Linked DNA regions of Homo sapiens: region 2 is linked to region 1. The links are contacts of gene promoters, found by promoter capture Hi-C in blood cells and fetal thymus (Javierre and others, 2016). All regions are on one chromosome and are shown on one strand. The core of a region is centred on a gene start or on the middle of the fragment in contact, and the rest is flanking DNA. Distances in the headings are between cores, read along the strand shown.

The links. Contacts are between HindIII fragments. The CHiCAGO score rates a contact against its expected background, and 5 or more counts as called.
Region 2: a contact is called between a fragment that was not itself captured here and the fragment with the promoter of PIGP in region 1, in 1 of 17 cell types (M2 macrophages). The highest score is 5.3, in M2 macrophages.

What each region holds. Positions count from the first base shown.
Region 1 is chr21:37,071,472-37,075,375 of GRCh38, forward strand. PIGP (phosphatidylinositol glycan anchor biosynthesis class P) reads right to left here and starts at 1,600. Exons shown (of 5, transcript NM_153682.3): 1 at 1,529-1,600; 2 at 963-1,066. The coding sequence starts at 1,044. It overlaps TTC3 (tetratricopeptide repeat domain 3), which reads left to right and starts at 1,783. Exons shown (of 46, transcript NM_001330683.2): 1 at 1,783-2,002. RefSeq lists silencers at 1,071-1,350, 1,591-1,910, 2,131-2,190 and an enhancer at 1,498-1,792. The HindIII fragment of the contact is 9,103 bases long and covers 1-3,904 here.
Region 2 is chr21:36,379,913-36,383,637 of GRCh38, forward strand. No RefSeq gene overlaps it. Among named protein-coding and RNA genes, the nearest start is that of CHAF1B, 3.6 kb to the right of the region's middle. The HindIII fragment of the contact is 1,476 bases long and covers 1,697-3,172 here.

The DNA of each region.
Region 1 (3,904 bases), core at 350-2,849:
TCAAAAAATTTGCTGAGGGTCCCAGCTCACATGGCTAATCTGTGGAGGAGTCAGAATTCGAACTCAGTTGTAACTTCTTCACTTCACTTCAGTTTTAATAGCCTGGCCATTACATTCATCTGCAAGCTGTGCTGATGGTGCAGGCTGATATATTTTAGTTAGGGTTCAGAAGTACTACCACTCCTCCACTTTCCTGGTTTCCAAACAGTTGCAGAACGTTGGATCACGGGCACTCAATTTTCTCCCTTTTGTGTGCCTCAAAATTCTCAAATCATTTTGGGGAGAGACTTGGGACTTGCTGTGTGAGTGGGCATATTAGTGTCTTAGTGAGCATCAGTCTCCTTATCTGTAAAATGGAATGTTATGGGGTTAAATTAAGGGAGATCCAGGACGCAAACGACACACCTTTCAACCCGACTTCTCTGGCCTACTTCTCCTGTTCCCCAGATCCCGCAGGGCACACTGGTGACATCACAAGCTCCTCGGGTCCAAACCCTCTCACGCCCTCATTCAAGGCCTTTCCACTTCTTCCCTCCCTCTTACTCTTTCCTAATCAGCATCAGTGCCAGGGGGAAAGGCCTCTGTAGAAAGCCTTGACTTTCCAGTCTGGTTTCAATGTCTCTCCACCGTGCTCCCTGACACTCATCACACTGAGCATTAACTGTAGATTTACCCATCTGTCTCCTCCACAAGACCACGACCTCCTTAAGGGCAGGGACCAGGCTTTATCCACTTTGCCATCGCGTCTGGTGCTGTATAAATATTTGTAGAGACTAAAACCTCCTAGGCTAGTGCTGGCACACGGAACACTCAGCAAACACGAGATCCCTTCAGATTTTCTTAAAAAGAGACATAGGGAGAAAGAATCAACAGTTCATGTGTGCACAGTCTAACCAATGTATTCTTCCCTTGTCACTGAACGCCAGAAAAAGCCCCTGGCCATCCATCAGGAAAGTACTTACTGAAGCCAAATTGGGAGCTTAAGAAAAGAACAAAGCCATAAATCGCTCTTTCTGGCAATGGCGACGGTGAATTTTCCACCATTTTTCCTGGGGCTTTAGACAATCTGTGGAAAAGGAACACAATCAGCGTCAGCGATGTGCTCCGTGGCACCATTGATCCATTCTCGCCTCCTCGCTCCGCCGCGGGTACGGCCCCCGCCGCGCAGAACCGCCTCCCGCGCCTCCGTCCGCAACCCGCGCCCCCGCCTCGAGCGCATACAGACACCCAGGCTGGCGCGCGCCCCGCAACAGAAGGGGTGGCGGAGGATAGGGCAGGGAGGGGGGTTCTGGGGCGATAGACGCGCGCTCCAGCTCTGCAAGCGTGGCCTCCCTGTGGGAGGGGAGGGCAGGGAACAAGGCTCGCGCGGCGCCCACCAGCATGCGGGCCTACTAGGTCGCGGCGCCCAGGCCCCGGGCCCTGCCCATTCGTGGAGACTTCTATTTCTCATTCGAGGCGGGGTATGGGGGGGCCCTCGACCTCGGGTCCTTCATACGCCCACCCAGGCCCCTCCCGACACCTCGGCCACCTCAGCGCTGAGTTCTCCGCGCAAGCGCCGACTGGGGAGCCGCAGTGGGGAAGAGGAAAACCTGAGGGAAAGGCCTAGGCGCGACGGCAACCCCCACCCTGGCGCAGGCGCACAACGACCCTCCCCGGGTGGGAGCCAGCGAGCGCGGGGGCGGGCGTGATCCCGCGGCTCGCGACGGCGAAGGAGGGGGCGGTGGGGTGCGACTGCGCACGCGCGCTGCCAGCCCACGTGACGCACCTCGCTTCAACGCCGCCACCCGCTCCCTCCCGCCGTCGGCTGACGTGGAGGGCCGGAGGTGGCGGCGGCGGCGGCGGCGGCTGCTGCTGCTGCTGCCCGCGTCCGAGGCTCGCGGGCGGCGGGCCCGGGTGAGTGCACACCCGGCGCGCTGCCGGGCTCCCGGATGTGTCACCTTGTCCCGCTGCAGCCGAGATGCCGGGGGAGCGGGGCCTTCCACACCCCCTCCGTGGGTGTGTGGTGAGTGTGGGTGTGTGCGCGTCTCCTCGCGTCCCTCGCTGAGGTGCCTACTGTGTCTGCATGGGTTGGGTCCCGCGCGATGAGGGGGTGTGGCCGCCATTGCCTACCCCAGTGGGTTTGCCCCCTTGGTCTGGTGCCCCTTCGCGAGCGAGGCCCTGGGATGCCGGTGCGAGGGTGTGAGTAGTCCCTTTGTGCGCAACCCCCCGCTGCCCGTGCCTCGGCCGGTGCGTGGCTGACACCTCCGCTGGGTGGAGGCGCTCGCGTGTCGCCTCGTCGCCCCTTTTGTGTCGGTGTCCGCGCTCCCTGGCGGCTGCGTGGGCGCTCTCGGCCTTGCAGGTGGCCCCCCTTTGTGTTACTGCCCCTGTCTGTGGGCTGCGCGTCCCCTAGCGCGCGTGGCCGCGCCTTCTGCAATTGCGACCCCCGCCTAGAGCCTTGCTCGCGCAAGTGTGCGTCCTTGCGTGTCTCCGAGTGACGCAGAGTGTCTGCGCATGGGTCCTGTTGAGTGCGTGATCTCTTGTGTGCGGATTTAATTCTGTCGAGTGGGTATCTCTTGTGTGCAGGTTTCGTTGGTGAGCGTGAACGTTCGTGCACACCCCTTGCTGTGTGTGCGTGTCACGACTCTGTTGCCACCTGTTTTCGTGTGAACTGGCAGTCCAGTCCAGGGCCTGTCCCCACGGAACGGACCCAGGAGGGGGGTAACCTCGCCGCTCCCCTCGCCCCCGCGCCTCTTTCTGAGCATTCTCTCCCACAGACGCTAATGGGAAGGGGGGTGGACAGGATCGAGTCTGGCCAGCTGCTCCGCAGTGTTGACGCTGCCAGTGTGGCCTCTTCAGCCAGCCTGTTCAGGAGACAGAATAGGGGGATCAAAGATAAAAAATGAAGCCGAGACGTAGGTGAATTTGGGCTGGTACCAGTGCGCCGTGCCTTTTCCAGTGGCGCCCTGGACGCCAAAACCCCCTCAGTTGCAGAGACCTTTCAAAATATATGCACTCTCCTACTGGGCGATGCGGTCCTTAGGCGTTCTTGATGATATTTAATGGTTTATAGAGTATTTTATGGCATTCACCTAAATCTCTTTCCATTTTGCCCAAGATCCTGGCGAGGGAAACAAGGTAGAAATTTTACAGATTTTACTCCTCCGGAGAGAGCCTTTTCCTTATAACTACGACTCTAGTTAGGACATTTTTTGTTGCAAGAAATTTGCGATTTATCCTAAGGAAAATGGGATATAGTATAAGGATACCTAGGGTAAGAAACTTCAAACCCCTTAGAGACCCAGCTACTGCTCCGATTGCTCAAGGTTTCGTGCTCTGCGCTCAAGGGCTGCGTTTTGGTGTCTTTGTTCTGCCCAATTTTCTTATTGTCTAATTTTCCTTTTTTTCTTTTAATTTTTGGAATATTTCAGATATCAAATACAGAGGGGGAGCTAACCAATCCATGATTCAGATTTTACAGACGTGATTATTTAATCTTTTGCCAAATTTACTTCAGATACTCTTTTTTTTTAAAGAAATAAAATTGCTCTCAGTTCCTTCCCCTCCTTTTCTAGAGATAGCCACTGCGTTGAGGTTTGTGTATATCTTTACTTTGCATATTTTATACTTTGATCAAGGTGAATCCATACACAATATATATTATTGTTTGTTTTTAAACTTTAATGGCATTAAAATATACATGCCTTTTTGCAACTTGCTTTTTTTTTTTTTGCTCAGCATCATATTTTGAGGTTTATATATGAACAAATTGAATGATTGTGTTATCTTTGGTTCATTCATTTTAATTGCTGGTATAGAATTGCGTTGTATGAATATACCATATTTATTTATACATTCCCCTGTTGATAGACTTTGAACTTGTTTCAGTTTTTGACTCTTAAAAACAGTCCTGCAATAAATATCTTTG
Region 2 (3,725 bases), core at 1,185-3,684, 690 kb before region 1:
GTATCATTCTGTTGCCCAGGCTGGAGTGCAGTGGCATGATCACAGTTCACTGCAGCCTCAACCTCTCAGGCTCAAGTGACCTCCCACCTCAGCCCCCACGAGTAGTAGGAACTACAGGCACATGCCACTGCGCCCAGCTAATTTTTGAATATTTTGTAGAGACTGGGTTTGCCATGTTGCCCAGGCTGCTCCAACTTCTGGCCTAAAGCCATCTGCCCGCCTCGGCCTCCCAAAATGCTGGGATTACAGGCGTGAGCCATCACGCCCAGCTGGCTGTATCTTCATAACAAAATGTAATGGTGTTTTATATTCACAAAGGAGTCAAGTCTTCCTAATCTCCCATGGGGTTCCTGTTGGAAGTGAGGCTCTTGGTTTGTACTGTGATCTGAACCATGACTGAATTAAGGTAATTTGAGTATAGAATTTTTTCTGTTCTAGGCAATTGTCTCTTGTTTTGTGACTCCCTTGGTGGGAATCTCTCTCAAAATGTGATATTCATGGAGGCAACTGAAGTACCAGCAAGCTTGTCCAACCTGCCTTGCTTGGTTGTGTTTTTTTAGTTTTTTTTCCCCAGGCTGGTCTCAAGAACTTCTGGGCTCAAGGGATCTGCTCACATTGGCCTCCCAAAGTGTTGGGATTACAGGCATGAACCACTGCTTCTGGCTTTAAATATATATATATTTTTTGAGACAGGCTCTTGCTTTGTCACCCAGGCTCGAGTAGCAGTGGCGCGATCACAGCTCACTACAGCCGCAATCTCCCGGGCTCAGGTAATCCTCCCACCTCAGCCTCCTGGGTAGCCAGGACCACAGGCACACACCACTATGCCCAGCTAATTTTCGTATTTTTTGTGGAGACAGATTTTTGACTTGTTGCCCAGGCTGGTCTCAAAATTCCTGGGCTCAAGCGATGCACTCCCCCACCTCTTAACCTCCTAAAGTGTGGGGATTACAGGAATGAGCCCTAACTTAGGGTTTTGTTTTTTTTGTTTGTTTGTTTTTCTGTACTCTGTATACTCCAGGGTATTTCAGATGTAAGGTATTTCAATACATCTAATAAATTTCCTGGTCTAGACTTGGTGACAGCCATTTCTCCAAAAGTTCTGCTTCATTTTGTGGGAAATGCTATTTGAAGATAATAATCTAGGCACAGATATAGTCATTGTTTCTAGTTAGGCCATTTCTTTTTCTTCTTCTTCTTTTTTTTTTTTTTTTTTTTTTTTCTTTTGCGACAGGTCTTGCTCTGTTGCCCAGGCTGGAGTACAATGGCATAATCATAGCTCACTACATCCTCAAACTCCTGGGCTCAAGTGCTTCGCCTTCCTCAGCCTCCCAAGTACCTGGGACTATAGGTGCATGCCACCATGCCTGGCTGATTTTTTTTTTTTTTTTCTAGATACGGAGTCTTGCTACGTTGCCCACGCTGGTCTTGAACTCCTGGGCTCAAGTGATCCTCCTGCTTCAGCCTCCCAAAATGTTGATATTACCGGCATAAGCCACTGTGCCTGGCCTAGTTTGGGCATTTCTAGGCCTTTTTAGTAGACTGAACTAAAAGAGACTATAATATAGTCTCTTTTGCTGAAAATCTGGGTTCCTAACCACACAAGTATTTGCTCTTCCTAATGTATACATAAATACATAGGTATGCATATATGTAACAATACCAATATTTTCTAGCCATAGTATGACTGAAGGTAAGCTTTCTTTGGGGTAGTATAAAATTTCTGTGTTTGCCAATCACTTGAAATAATAACTCCTTGTGTGCATCACACACATCCATGTTGCTGCCTGTGTCAGTCAGTGTAGAGTTCTCCAGAAAATCGGAGCCCAATATGATAGATGCAAGAGATTGATCAGGAGGAGTGGCTTAAGTGGTTATGGAGTCTGAGAAGTCCCATGATCTGCTGTCTGCAAGATGGAGACCCAAGAAAGCCTGTGGTATAACTTAGTCCCACTCCAAAGCCCTGAGAACCAGGGACACCAGTGGCATAAGTCCTGGAGTCAAAAGACCTGAGAACCAGGAGCTCTGATGTCTGAGGGTGGAAGAGGATGTCCCAACTCAAGAAGAGACAGAATTTGCCCTTCCTCTACTTTTTGTTCTTTTCAGACTCAACAGGTTGGATGATGCCCCAGATACTGCCCAGGTTGGTGAGGGCGGATCTTCTGTACTCAGTCTACTGATTCAAATGCTAAAGTCTTCCAGAAACACCCTCATAGTCAGAAGTAATGTTGACCACCTATCGGGTATGTCTTAGCCCGGGCAAACTGAGGCATAAAATTAACTATCACAGTATTTCTTTTGGATTACCGAGTAGAATACCGTGGTATGAATATGGCACAGTCTGATTACCTTTTCTCCTGTGGGTGGACATTTGGTGTCTTTCTAGTTTGGGGCTATTATGGATAATGATTCTTGTATGAGTTTGCTTTTGTTTTCCTGATATATATGCCAAGGAGTGGAATTGCTGAGTCATAGGGTAGGCGTATCATTAACTTTATTAGACAGTGCTGAACAGTTTTCTAAAGTATTTACATCAGTTTACACTTCCACCAGTAGTGTGCCAGAGGTCCCGTTGTTCTCAATCTCCTGTATTGATTTCCGTCATTTCTATTTTTCTTTTTCTTTCTTTTTTTTTTTTTTTTTTTCAGACTGAGTCTGTTTCTGTCGCCCAGACTGGAGTGCAGTGGCATGATCTTGGCTCACTGCCCTCTGGGTTCAAGTGATTCTAGTGCCTCAGCCTCCGAGTAGCTGGGATTACAGGCGCCACCACCATGCCTGGCTGTTATTATTATTATTATTATTATTATTTTTGAGATGGAGTTCTGCTCTTGTTGCCCAGGCTGGAGTGCAATGGCGCAATCTCGGCTCACTGCAATCTCCGCCTCCCAGGTTGAAACGATTCTCTGGCCTCAGCCTCCTGAGTAGCTGGGATTACAGGTGCCTGCCACCGCGCCTGACCTATTTTTTCTATTTTTAGTAGAGATGGGGTTTCACCATGTTGGCCAGGCTGGTCTCAAATTCCTGACCTCAAGTGATCCGCCCGCTTCAGCCTCCCAGATGCTGCAATTACAGGCGTGAGCCACTACGCCTGGCTTCTCCTAGTTTTCTTATTCTGATATTTGCTCAACATTTTTTTCCAACCCTGTACTGAATTTTGTATGTCTGTTATCAAAGCTTTTTTTTTTTTTTTTTTTGAGACAGAATCTCACTCTGCCACCCAGGCTGGAGTGCAGTGGTGCCATCTCAGCTCACTGCAACCTCCAAGTCCCGGGTTCAATGGATTCTCTTGCCTCAGCCTCCCTAGTATCCCGAGTAGCTGGGATTACAGGCACACACTACCACTCTGTATAGTTTTTGTATTTTTATAGAGAAGGGGTTTTGCCATGTTGGCCAGGCTGGTCTGGAACTCCTAGCCTCAAGCAATCTGCCTGCTTTGGCCTCCCAAAGCGTTGGGATTATAGATGTGAGCCACCATGCCCGGCTCAGATTTTGATTTTAGAATGTTCACACTTACAAATGGAAATTAAAATGCCTTGAGAAGTTTTTTTTCGAAGCTGAGTTAAGAGTTAGTCCCTTTATATCAATTTTCATTATTAAAAAGTTCTCAGGAACCAAATAACATTGGTCCCCTTAAATTGAGGCAGTTCTGCTCAAAATGGATGCTTGGGGCCCAAGCTGAACAACAGTGGTTGTTGAGGAATCTAGTTAGAATTGCGTTATAGGAA